Linked DNA regions of Homo sapiens: all the other regions are linked to region 1. Evidence: promoter capture Hi-C in 16 types of primary human blood cells and fetal thymus (Javierre and others, 2016). All regions are on one chromosome and are shown on one strand. Each heading gives the region's core, a stretch centred on a gene start or on the middle of the fragment in contact. The rest is flanking DNA. Distances are from core to core; before and after follow the strand shown. Region 1 holds the start of KDM7A (lysine demethylase 7A). Region 2 overlaps HIPK2 (homeodomain interacting protein kinase 2). Region 3 overlaps HIPK2 (homeodomain interacting protein kinase 2). Region 4 overlaps HIPK2 (homeodomain interacting protein kinase 2).

The links. The method cuts DNA at HindIII sites, captures the fragments that hold promoters and counts their contacts. A CHiCAGO score of 5 or more calls a contact.
Region 2: a contact is called between a fragment that was not itself captured here and the fragment with the promoter of KDM7A in region 1, in 2 of 17 cell types (neutrophils and fetal thymus). The highest score is 7.7, in neutrophils.
Region 3: a fragment that was not itself captured here is called in contact with the fragment with the promoter of KDM7A in region 1 in 2 of 17 cell types (fetal thymus and naive CD4 T cells); the score reaches 7.2 in fetal thymus.
Region 4: a fragment that was not itself captured here is called in contact with the fragment with the promoter of KDM7A in region 1 in 2 of 17 cell types (monocytes and fetal thymus); the score reaches 5.2 in monocytes.

Annotation. Positions count from the first base shown.
Region 1 is chr7:140,175,532-140,178,510 of GRCh38, reverse strand. It overlaps KDM7A (lysine demethylase 7A), which reads left to right and starts at 1,528. Exons shown (of 20, transcript NM_030647.2): 1 at 1,528-1,767. The coding sequence starts at 1,574. KDM7A-DT (KDM7A divergent transcript) reads right to left here and starts at 1,250. Exons shown (of 1, transcript NR_024451.1): 1 at 1-1,250. RefSeq lists silencers at 1,120-1,549, 1,590-1,689, 2,330-2,509, 2,520-2,799 and an enhancer at 972-1,895. The HindIII fragment of the contact is 8,961 bases long and covers 1-2,979 here.
Region 2 is chr7:139,642,366-139,645,727 of GRCh38, reverse strand. All of the region lies in intron 2 of HIPK2 (homeodomain interacting protein kinase 2), which reads left to right. Among named protein-coding and RNA genes, the nearest start is that of CLEC2L, 120 kb to the right of the region's middle. The HindIII fragment of the contact is 6,710 bases long and covers 1-3,362 here.
Region 3 is chr7:139,623,606-139,626,754 of GRCh38, reverse strand. HIPK2 (homeodomain interacting protein kinase 2) reads left to right here. Exons shown (of 15, transcript NM_022740.5): 6 at 1-154. Among named protein-coding and RNA genes, the nearest start is that of CLEC2L, 100 kb to the right of the region's middle. RefSeq lists a silencer at 156-366. The HindIII fragment of the contact is 7,682 bases long and covers 1-3,149 here.
Region 4 is chr7:139,597,447-139,600,423 of GRCh38, reverse strand. It overlaps HIPK2 (homeodomain interacting protein kinase 2), which reads left to right. Exons shown (of 15, transcript NM_022740.5): 11 at 1-7. All of the region lies in intron 2 of LOC105375530 (a long non-coding RNA gene), which reads right to left. Among named protein-coding and RNA genes, the nearest start is that of CLEC2L, 75 kb to the right of the region's middle. The HindIII fragment of the contact is 3,211 bases long and covers 1-2,970 here.

The DNA.
Region 1 (2,979 bases), core at 279-2,778:
CGTCTCTATTAAAAATACAAAATTACCCGGGTGCGGTGGCGTGCGCCTGTAATCCCAGCTACTTGGGAGGCTGAGGCAGGAGGATCCCTCGAACCCGGGAGGTGGAAGTTGCAATGAGCCGAGATCACAGCACTGCACTGCACTCCAGCGCGGGCAACAAGAACGAAACTCCGTTTCAAAGAAAGAAAGGAAAGAAAGGAAAGGAAAGGAAAGGAAAGGGAGGGAGGGAAGGAAGGAAGGAAGGAAGGAAGGAAGGAAGGAAGGAAGGAAGGAAAGAAAGGAAAGAAAGAAAGAAATGGAGAATTAGATCAGCGACTCTTTGCCTGGGGGTGGGTGACAGAACAACACTTCTTCCTCCCCTAACAAAAATTACCTATGGAGCTGTGAGGGCTTTCCCCACTGATAGAAATGCCAGCAGAAATTCAGCTACAAATACTCAATCCAATAATCCTTAACATCACTTCCAATCCACAGTTATGATTCCAACGCAATCTTTTCTATACAGTATTTGTCAGCTGTTTTTATTCTTCAGTTTATCATCTTATATTTGGCTCTCAATTTCACCCATAAATTATTGATGGCTTATTATACGCCAAGTACCCTGCGCTCCGCTTTTTGTGGTATCCCTCTTCGGAGCGAGAAGTCACTTAGAATTTTACCCCATCTTCCCCACTTGGGAATCGGAAGGGTTCATAGCTAAGTTTTGTTATTTATAAGCACGCCGGCTCTTCTCTATCCCTCTCTCCACCAACCCCATTTCAAGGTTGGTCCCTCCCAGCGGACGACAGTGATGAATTCCTCTTGGGGACAGCCCTCCCGCAACTAACGGTGGCTCCATCGACGCTCTGGTCTCCTTGCTGCTCGCTGGGAATTCGGGTGGGACGTTTTCCAAAGTTTGGATTCCACGGCACATTCCTCCCTCGGAAAGGCACAACCGGCTCGGCGTGTCAGCTCAGCTGGACTCACGCCGGTGCGGGGCCGCAGCTCCGGTTCTCGCTGGGCGGCTGCGGAGGGCTGGGCGATTCTCTCAGCGTCGCGAGGCGACCCGGGCAGCAGCAAACTTCTCCGCTTCCCCTCTTCGGGACGCGGCACCTCTTCTGCCCTTGAGCACTCCGCAGGAACTTCCCCCGGCCTCGGCTCTCGCTCCGAAATAACCGAGCCAGCTCCTCGCACGCTCCCGCCGTCCTCCTCCGGCTGCGGCCGCGCGCCCGCCGCCACCGCCACCACCGCGCGTGTCCTCACGGGGCCTCAGCTCCCTCCGCCCCCGCAGCCGCCTGCGTGCCCTTCAACAGCTCCCTCCGCCCGGCCGTCGCGGAGAGGAGCGGGGAGCGCGCGCCGGCGCCAGAGACGTGCGCGAGACGCACGGCCCCGCGCCGAGCGCCGGAAGCAGCCGAGTCTGGGCCTCGCGCGTCGCGCGCGCCTCCTCCCCCTCCGCCAGCCGCCGCGGCCTCGCGCGCGCGCACTGAGGCGCCGCCGCCGCCGCGGCTGCTGCAGGAGGCGGCGCTGGCTGGCGGCTGCGCTCGCTCCAGTCGGCGAGCGGAGTAGCGAGCGAGCGTGTGTGTGTTTTTTAAAGATGGCCGGAGCGGCGGCGGCGGTGGCCGCGGGAGCAGCAGCTGGAGCCGCCGCGGCAGCCGTGTCGGTGGCGGCTCCCGGCCGGGCCTCGGCGCCTCCGCCGCCCCCGCCCGTGTACTGTGTGTGCCGGCAGCCGTACGACGTGAACCGCTTCATGATCGAGTGCGATATCTGCAAGGACTGGTTCCACGGCAGGTAAATAAACCCCCTCCAGCCCCGCAGCCGCCACCGCCGGCCACCGACCAACCGCCGCCGCCGCCGGCCGCCCGCGCCTCCCTCGGGCCGGGCCGCCGCGCCGCGCCCAGCTTTCAGGGGGCCCCGGTGCCTAGCCCCCCGGCCGGGCAGTGGGGCGCGCGGTGCCCCGGGTTCGCCGGGCGGGCTCCAGAGGGGAGCCGGTGGGCTCGCCTGGCCCGGGCGAAGAGTCGCCACAACAAACACGAACAAAGAGGGCCGGCGGATAAGTTGGCAGGGGGAGCCTGGGGCGAGGGGACGCGGCCGGGCGGGCGCGGCGGGGGCGTCGGGCGGAGCGCCGGCCGGGTCCGCAGCCCCTCGCCAGCCCGGGCCGCCGCCGCCCCGCCCCGCCCCGCCGCGCCCGGGGCTCCGGCCGGAGTCGCCGGCCGCCCCGCCGCTCTGCCCGGCCGGCCGACGCGCCTGCCTTCCTTCCGGGCGGCGATGGGGTCGCCCCGGCCCCGCGTCTCCTCCGCGCCGCGGGTCCCTGTCGCGCCCCCTTCCCCGTCTTTATCAAACTTCCTGGGCCAGTGGGACGGGGGCAGCGGCGGGCCGGAGAGGCGACCGCGCCAGCCAGCTCGGCGGGGCTCCGCGGAGTAAACAGAGCAACAGATGAGGCACTCGCTCTCGGGGACTTGAAAGGTGCCGGGGAAGTTGGGGCCGGGCCCCCGGCGGGCGGCAGGTTGACCCGGGTCGCGGTCCTGGGCCCCCGCACACACCCGGGTCGCCGGGACTGGGGCAGATGGAGTGGGTTGCGGCGGCCCGAAGGGAACGCTTCTCCGGACCCCCTGCGTTGCCCTCGCGCCGCGGCTTAAACTTTACAAAGAGTGCAGTTGCCATCGCTCGAAGCTGGCGACACCGGGACCGCCTGCGGCTGTGCCCGGGCGCCGGTGCCGGCGAACTTGAGTCGGCCGGGCGGACGCTGCGGGGCCGGCTGGCGGCGGCGGCGGACGCTGCCCTCTGATTCAGCCGCCGCCGCGCTCCGGGTTTGACGTTTGAGAGCTCGGGCCGCCTCCGCAGCCAGGCCGCCGACTCGTGTGTTTTGTAATCAAAGTGTGAGGCTAATAAAGGGCGGCGCCACAGCCTCTTGACTCCGGCGTGGGAGGGATTCACAGGCATTTAAACAAAGAAACTAGTTGGGGTTGGGCTCCCAAAGTCCTTATTTGGGTGTTGTGGCAA
Region 2 (3,362 bases), core at 845-3,344, 530 kb after region 1:
CTGGTTTGATGGCGTGCACGTCTCCAGAGAGCAAGGCCAGCCTCATCCACCTGGCTCCCCTCACCGCACTCACACCTGCCTGCTTAGAGTCAGGCCGCATCCTGTACTTACAGGATCAGAGCCTACTCCATCGGCCAGGAGTAGTGGCTTTATTTGGAAAGTTGCTTAGGTAGGGTATTAGTGGGTTTCGGCCCTGCTTTCTCAGTAGTTTTCCACCTAACACACAGTGCAGTGGGGGAGACCTCCTCAGACGATACCTGTTTTATTGGAATATCCCTTAGGCTGCAATGGAAATTCACTCTCTAACTTGTGTTTGACATTTTTACTGAGTGGGTTCCTTTTCATAGCTCAAGTTTCTGGCTTCTGTTCTCTTAATTGGTATGTCTCCGGCTGGTGACACTGAATGTATCTCCCTTTCAAAGAAGGAGCAAGTTTCTGTCTTTTATCCCAGACTGTCAGCCATAAAGACTGACTGTGACTTAGCTCCACAAGCCACATGATCAGATGGTGCTGTAAGGAAAGAAAATACCCCAAAGATGAGCCTTGTCTATGGCACAGTCACTCATCTGAGAGTTGGGGATTCGGGGCTTCTCCAGTGGAGGCACTGGGAACCTTGGAAAGGAAAGCATCGTGTTTCTTCTGCCTGTTGTTGGTTCATTCATTCATCCAGCAAACACTTATTGAGGCCTCACCATGAACCAGTCGAAGCTAAATGTTGAAGCAATGAGAAGTTTTGCATTTAAATCAGTAAAGTTGCACATAAGTGATGTTACTTTCTTAGTATGCATCCATCTAGAGTAGAGGGTGAACCTTGAATTAATGTGTTAGTGTGGAAGAGACCAGCCTTTTCCCCAGCCTCACATCTCATGATCACTATAAGTGGGTAACATCACCAGGCTGAATAAAGTGAAGACGCCACATCTGCAGTTGATCCACAGGAATTGAAATTCCAAATCCCTTGCCAGTGCAGAGAAAAGAAGAGTGGTCCCAGAAAGCTGAAAAGTGACAGCAGGTGACAGTGGGACTTGGGTTAGGCCTTCCCAGAATCAGCAGGCTTCCCAACACAGCTCTAAATGCCCAGTTTCAACCCTCGGCTTCAGTCAACAGACTAACAATGAATCGGAAGAAAAACAGTCAACAAAAGGATCCATGATGAGGACCATCATAAAAGAATGGCTGAGGCCTGGCTCCTTTCTCAGCCACTGTGTTGGGATTCCCAGCCTCTGGCCTTTGCGCTCACCTGGGCAGGAGCCTCATCTGAGCACAGTGGCAGAGCACAGCGAGGCATGGGGGCTGCCACACCGATGTGCACCCATACCCAGGCTTGAGTGTGCAGGCTGCATGTCACCTCCCACACATGGTGACTTCAGAGCCCCTTTGAGGAGGAGGGACAGCGGATGGGAGGAAATACCACAGGGCTTTTGTGATGTTGACAGTGCTCTGTTTCTTCACCTGGCTGGTAGTGACACTGGTCTTTGTTTTCCAATAAGTTGTTAAGGTATACGTTTTTGTTGTATACTTCTTTGTATATATATTCTCTTTCATAATTAAAAAAAAAGATAAAAACATTTAAAAAGAGCCTGGAGCAGTATACATATGAAAAGATTACATAGATAGGCACCTGCAGAGACACATGGTTCCATTTCTCTGGCTGATAGGTGCTTCTGCAAACATTTGTTGAGCACATTCTTTGACAAAAGTCACCAAGCATAAAGCGTGGCCTGGTGACACTGTAGTCTGGTAGAGTGCTGGGAGGTCAGAACAGGCTTTCTCCAGCAACGCAGAGCTTCATGGTATAGCACCAGAGACCAGATTGGGGGATATTGGGCCACCCAGGCCAGGGATGGGTAAAGCAGGCACAGCACGTGTCAGGAGTATAAGGATCTCAGGAATTACAGGGCAGCGTGAGTATCTTTGAAATACTTATCATGGAGTCCAAACTGGTTCTTCTAGGAACCTTCCTCATTGACATTACAATTCATAGTTTTCTTTTTTTCTTCTTTCCTTCCCTTCTTGCTTTTCTTATTTCACCAAGTCAAGTCAATATCGTTTAGGTGGATCCATGTCCCTGGCTGTACTTTCTTCACTTTATTCTACATGCACAAGCACATAACCACAAATTTAGAGGCCAGTATGCTCTGGACATCTGAGAACTGGTTTCCAGTTTGCACCAACATCACCAGAAGCCTTTGGAGATTATATTCATTTCAGTTGCAGATGCAACCTTCTCCTCTGGCATGTAAACAAGTGAGTTAGATTTTGGTGCTACGCTTAGCAGAGTTGGAGCAGGACTAAGAACGAAGGATCAGTGTGAAAATGTGTGTGTGTGTGTGTGTGTGTGTGTGTATTTAGTACATATTCAGAGCCAAGATGTTCACTGCCAATATGAATAGAAAAAACCGCCAATCTGATTCTAACATTATACAGGGAATGGCCAGTTGAATCAAGGAAGCCTGCATCCTTTAAGAGACTGTCCAAGTGTGCCATGAGAATGATGTCAACATCTAGACCCAACTGCAATTATATCAACCTCCATATGGATATGATGGTTCATTCTGAAGTCTTCAGCACTTGTATTGGTGATAGCTGAAGATACTCAGTTATGACAGAATCATCAGTGAGGGTCTGAAATGATCCTCCTTAGCACACAGTTTTATGGACATCAGTAGCGGCCCCTTAGGTAGAAAATCTCTGCAACAGTGGTTCTACGTGTATTACATCAAGCTGCAACCACCCAGAAGTTTGGGTGTCGTGTCTGTCCCCCCAGCTCTCCTTTTGGAGTTGGAACCCTGTTCCCTTGCAGCAGCTCTCCACCTTAATTTCTTCAGCTTATAACCAGGCAAAAGTACCCTGCTGCAGAGTGCACAGAGATCTTGGGGTCCACGGTGTTTGGCTTGGCCATTCCAAGGATGGCTCCGTGGAAGCCAGCGCAATGGGTGGGCCCCTTGTCAACCTCCCCCATGTTTTGCTCCTAGAGCTTCATCTCTGGGTCCCTTTTTCCTTTTGCTTGTCTGCCTATCACCCTAATCAAAGACAAAACTATTTCTCTTTGATCTCCTGTTTGCCTAGGAAGCTGTGTGTCTTTTTAAGAATCCAATCACAGGTTGACCTGGGATTAGCTCACCTCAATGGCCATCTACATCTCCACTTGGACCTTCTGGATCCCCCTAGGCATGGTGTGGATTCATCCTGTGGGGAGGCTGCCCCTGTTTTCCCAGCAGGCTTGCCTGTGGTCACAGGGCGTGTTGTCTCTCCATGCAGCTGCCCCGAGGTGCTTTCCAGCCCTTGCCTTTCTGGCTGTCTTCTGTGCAGCTCTCTCTTACCTCTGGCTCCAATTCCTCTGAAATAGCCTCCTCCTCCTC
Region 3 (3,149 bases), core at 401-2,900, 550 kb after region 1:
ACATGTTGGTAGAAAAGGCTGACCGGCGGGAGTTCATTGACCTGTTGAAGAAGATGCTGACCATTGATGCTGACAAGAGAATCACTCCAATCGAAACCCTGAACCATCCCTTTGTCACCATGACACACTTACTCGATTTTCCCCACAGCACACAGTAGGTGTCCTGCCTGATGCTTCGTACCAGGGATCGGCAAACTTTAAAGGCCCAGACACTAAATATTTTAGGTTTTGCGGCCATAAGGTCTTGGTAACAACTACTCAGCTGTCACTGTAGCTGAAAGCAGCCACAGATGCAATACATAAACAGATGAGTGAGGCTGCATTCTAATGAAACATTTATGAAAGTGGGCAGGGCTGGGCGTGGTGTCTCATGCCTGTAATCCTAGCACTTTGGGAGGCCCAGGCAGGTGGATCACCTGAGGTCAGGAGTTCGAGACCAGCCTGGCCAATATGGTGAAACCCTGTCTCTACTAAAAATACAAAAATCAGCTGGGTGTGGTGGGGCGCACCTGTAATCCCAGCTATTTGGGAGGCTGAAGCAGGAGAATTGCTTGAACCTGGGAAGCAGAGGTTGCAGTGAGCCGAGATCGCGCCATTGCACTCCAGCCTGGGCGACAGAGCGAGACTCCATCTCAAAAAAAAAAAAAGGAAAGAAAAAAAGAAAGAAAGTGGGCAGTGGCTGGACTGGGTCCCTGGCCTGCAGTTGGCTTCACACTGAAAAGGAGGGAAGAGGAGAGCACAGAGCTGGATGAACCTGACTCTGGGTATCTGTGCAGGAAGAGAGGTGCCCGAAACGGTAGTCTCTGTAGCGCAAAACTAGTCTCAGGGCCAAAGATTGCTCCCAGAACCTTCCCAGAGTGGACCCAGTCTAGTTTGGGTTTGGATTTGTTCATTCATTTCTTCAGCGTGCTGTGTGCCGGGGTACAGTGGTGAGCAGAGCAGACGGCCCTGCCCACTGGAGCTTGCAGTCCGTAAGAGAGAGAATGGTATAAAACAAGTGATGCCCAAATCACCAGGCTGCTATGAGGACAAGTATCAGGTGTGATGAGAGCATACCCACAGGGGAGCCTCATTTTGGGGCAAACCAGGAAGACTCCCAGGAAGTGGCCTGTGAAGGATGAGGAAGAGGATGGGCATGAGCAGGCAGGGCATTGCCTGTATGGACAGGACACTCCCCCATGGGCAGGACCATGCACCCATCCCAGAAGGCAGTAGGTGAGACAGTGAGGCATCCAGTCAGCCAGGGCAGGCCGTACATGTTAAGGTTTTTAATCTTGATCCAAAAAGCAATGGGAACTCATTAAATGATTCTTCAGCAAGGGAATAGCTGGTTAGATCTGTGTTGAGCAAAGATCTGTCTGCTGCCACACAAGTCAAATGAGTCTGGAAAAAAATGTCCATTCGGTTTAACAACTCACAAGTTGTCAGTAACGCAGTGGCAGCCATTCAGTGGAGTGGTAAAAGCAGAAACCAGTTTACCAGGTTGAAAGACCAAGTGAGAGGTGAAGAAATAGCAACCTTTCATGAAGTGAGGCTATGCAAGAGAAGAAATAGAGGGGTGACTGGGGAGGGGTCAAGGGGATTGTTTTTAAGACAGGGTTCAGAGCACAGGGATGGGCCAGTGTCATTGGAAGGATAGATGGACGAGGGGCATGTGGATGTCAGCGTATGTGCTGGTCTCATGGAGAAAAGTTGAGGGAGTCCTGTCAGACAGCTTCTGCTTCTCAGAAGTAGGCAATGAGGTTATCTGTTGAGAACGAGGTGGAGGGTGGTTTAAGAAGGGTAGAAAGTTTAGGTAGCTGGAGCAGAAGGTGGCAGAGCAAACTGACCAGAGAAATACGGTGGAATTGTTGAGCCCTGAGGTTCGACATGAATCGTTTATAGTGTAACTCATCTCCCCAGGTGAAGGCATAGAGAAGACAGATGAGTCTTCTGATCTAGGTTTGTCCAGGTGGAATTTTTGCCAGGCTGGTAAGAGAAGAAGACAGATTGACAAGGAAGCTGATGAGGCTAGCCAGAGAGTAACTGTAATCCAGAATGATGTCTATTGGAGACTTTGCCCAAAGGGAAAGGAAGTGAAGATGGGAGGGGATCCAAGTAAACGTGGTGTTCTGGTCAATGCAGAGAAGGGTTATCATAGTCATAGTGGAATGAGCCAGATGGAGGAAGAATGTGGCTGGGAAAACAGGATGCTTAAACTTGTAGTTTCTGGAGGTGGAGCAATTTCAGGTTTGACGGTCCAGGGAATGAGTGGCTGTACTGGGTTGAGAACAAGAGTCACTGGACATGAGAAGTAAGCGGGAAGCCAGGGTATTTAAAAAGGGACCTGTGACTTCTGAAGCCTTCCTAGCGAGGCAGGGAATGGCTTGGAGAGGAAGGTCCAGCCAGTGGCAAAGGCCTCAGTGAACGAAGGGGAGAGGAAACGAAGTCATGGCCGGTTGCAGTGGCTCACACCTGTAATCCCAGCACTTTGGGAAGCCAAGGAGGGCGGATCAGCTGAGGTCAGGAGCTCAGACCAGCCTGGCCAGCATGGTAAAACCCCATCTCTACTAAAAATACAAAAATTAGCCAAGCGTGGTGGCCGCACTTCTGTAATCCCAGCTACTTGGGAGGCTGAAGCACAAGAATCGCTTGAACCCAGGAGGCGGAGGTTGCAGTGAGCTGAGATAGTGCCACTGCACTCCAGCCTGGGCGACAGAGCGAGACTCCGTCAAAAAAAAAAAAAAATAGGAAGCCGTTGGTGGATGGGAAGGTAATGGAGGGTCTCACTTCAGCCTCTCAACCCTGAGGTACTTGGGATGTAAAAGAATAAATAATCACATCCTACGTCTGCAGGGAAAAGGGGTGTGCTCAAGAGAGCAGCAGATTCTATAAGGATCAGGAGGGGAAGGGAATCCTGTGAGAAGAGCCTGGAGATGTGAGAATTGTGCGTATCATGGCGGGCCCTGCTGTCTCCAGAGTCAGAGGGGGCTGGGTCTCAAGGCTGGACCCGCCCCTTTCTGGCCTACAGGAAGTGAGTGGGTGGCACCACCATGGATAGTGGGGCCTCCATTTCATTTCTGTGCCTTACTATCAGTGAAGCAAGTCAAATGGCATTGCAACAAACAGATAGTGCCTCTTTAATGTAAAACCATGCTTGAAACAACTGA
Region 4 (2,977 bases), core at 116-2,615, 580 kb after region 1:
CTGTGAGGTAGGTGGTGAGAGCCACCCTAGGGAAGAGAAATCCCAGGGGATGTGAGTGCTAAAGAAATGTAGTTTAGGGAGTATCAGCACCCACTCTGAACATGGGACAGTTGCATGGGATGGGGGCACTCCTCTTCCTGCAGTGACTAGCAAAACATCCTGTACCACCTGGTTTGGCCTAGGGTTTGCAGGAAGCACTTGGTTTAAGACCGTGGTAATAGTGTAGGGATGGATGCAATGGAATCTTGCAGTGGGCAAGAGAGATTGGGCTCAACTCCATACAGCGTGGGCGAGTGAAAATTTATAGCCAAGGCAGGGTTGGGGGGTGTCGGTGGATGGGAAGTTACTAAGAGGAAGCATCAGGGGTAAGGGAGATTCTGCCTAAACTGACCTAACAGGATTCTTGCTAATGACAGGCCCGGGTGATCAGATATCACACCTGGAGGATGAGGAACCTCATCAGATATCGAGGGTGATCAGATATCAGGGATGGTGGGTTCTTGCTAAACTGACTTAGCAAGGTTTTTTGCCAAAAGTAGATTGTACAGCAGAGTGCACAGTTAGACCTAGGAGAAGGTTCACAAGCCTGACTAAAGTTTGGTGAAGCAAATTATCTTTTGTCACTTTCTACTTGTCTGGAGAACACTCAGCTTCACCTGAAGTTTCATTTTGGAAACAATTTACCATAATAATTGTTTTAAAATATTTTAAAATGTTGAAGTTGTTTAAAAATGTTTTAAAAAATACTAAAGAAATGTGCTTTCTTTGTATCTAAGATCAGAAGTTTAACTGATTTAGCACCTTGCTTAAATAGAAGCAATAGCTTGTTTAATCCCAGACACTAACCAGCAGAACACAAATCTTTCCCATTCCCTTTAAATCCATTCTCATCTCAATGAACACTTTGAAAAAATCAAGGTCAACAAAAGGCTGCATGCTGTATGATTCCATCTATATGGCATTTCGGAAAAGGCAAAACATAGAGACAGAGATCCGATTAGGGCTTGCCAGAGACCAGTAGGAGAGGAGGAGATTGACTGCGAAGAATCCTGAGGGGAAAAGCTCTAAGTCTGGATTGTAGGGGGGGTTATGACTGTGCATTTGTCAAAACTCATCAAACACTTCAAAGGGAGAAATGTTGCTATATGTCAGTTATACCTTAATAAACCTGACTTTTTAAAAAATGGAGATTTCCAAGCCAGAGAGAGAGAGAGAGATCGTGTGACTACAGGATTGCTCCTGCATCTCTTCCTAATGGCACAGCTTTGAGGTGCTTAATTGCTTATTTGCGATAAGTCAATCAAGAGAAATCTGGTATACAAAATGTCTAGTGATTTTGGTTTTCTGCTTCCTCATATAAGCAGATACCAGAAACTAGGCCTTTTTCTTTTCATTCTTATTCAAAAATTCATCCAAGGGCTGAAGTTGTCATCCTCCAAGATTCCTTATTTGGGTATTTCTGACAACTCAGGGAAATTTATCTCAGATCATTGGCAGCTTTCCAGAACGCTTTTGTTTGGCAGCCTTGTGACAGCTCACCCATGTCATTATTAGACTGGGTGGCAACAAAGTCCACTGTCTCAATCCTCATGGGCTGTCATGCCCAGCAAGGTCACATGGAGCACTACTCTGTCCCAGGACTGAGCTTAGCATCTTTGTGGTTCACCTTGGCTGAGTAGGGGCAGTAAGAACCCTTAGCCTCCCAACCTGTTTAGCAAGTCCCTCCTTTTTGTTTACTCACCACCCAGCTGACTTCATGAAGCCTCATTGCCAGTACATTTCAAGATCGATATAATTATAGTGAAAGGTATGTATTTGCTTATTTTTAAGACCAATGCCTTAGCAAAACAGTCTGAAAGACCAGAAGTCTCTCCCTTGTTGGTGATGTGGCCAGGCATACTTTTCCTTAACAATGCCAAGTGGAGATACTAAAACCATTGGTAGTGAAAAACATAATCTTAAAATTGTAATGTATTAGCAACGACAAATACATAGGTTTATAGTAAGTACAAACAATGGTACAATCATATCAGTGAAACATATTACCAGTCCCTAGAAGGAGCAAGCAATGTATCTGGCACTAGCTAGATAGGAAAATAAATCCACCTTTATTGAATTATTTTCATTTTACTGCCATCCCTTTAGCTAGAAGGTGCTAGAATCTCTAAAGACATATAAAAGTCTGAGTTTCATTATACATTGCTGTTAGTCTCTCACTGCATAGATACTACAGGTTGAGCATCCCTAATCCAGAACTCCAAAATTGTCCCAAATTCGGAACTTTTTGAGGATTGACATGATGCCGTAAGTGGAAAATTCCACACCTGACATGTGGTCTCAGTCAAAACTTTGTTTCATCCAGAAAATTATTATAAAATAATGTATAAAATGACCTCAGGCTATGTGTATAAGGTGTATATGAAACAAAAGAATTTTGTGTTTAGACTTGGGTTTCATCCCCAATATATCTCATTATGTATATGCAAATATTCCAAAATCTGAAAACAAAAATCCGAAACACTTCTGGACCAAGCATTTCAGGTAAAAGATGTTCACCCTGTGCCAGAGTCAGTGAGGATCTAATAGGGAGGGGAGAAAGTATTTTTCCCCTAAAGTTACCAAAAATCACACTGGTTAATTTAGTAAGGAATTTCAAGTTGATCAAAATTAAGATTAAAAGTTCTCTTTTTAAGAGTGCTTTTTCAAAACTCTTGCACTTTTCCAAATTTTCTATTACAATTTAGACTAATGCGCCTCCCATGAGGCTCCACGAGGCAAAATCCAGAAAAATCATTTTTAAGGTTTTTAGCAATTATATGCACACAAATACTTTGATGGTCATGTTCTTTTTCCAGAGGAGGAAAGAAGGAAAACTGAACCACTGGTCACCAAGGTTAGGTCCTTTAGATCCTGAAACTCTTAAGGAATGAATGTTTCAGTAGAATAACCATTAGCAAGGAAACCAAAGCTTGATGTG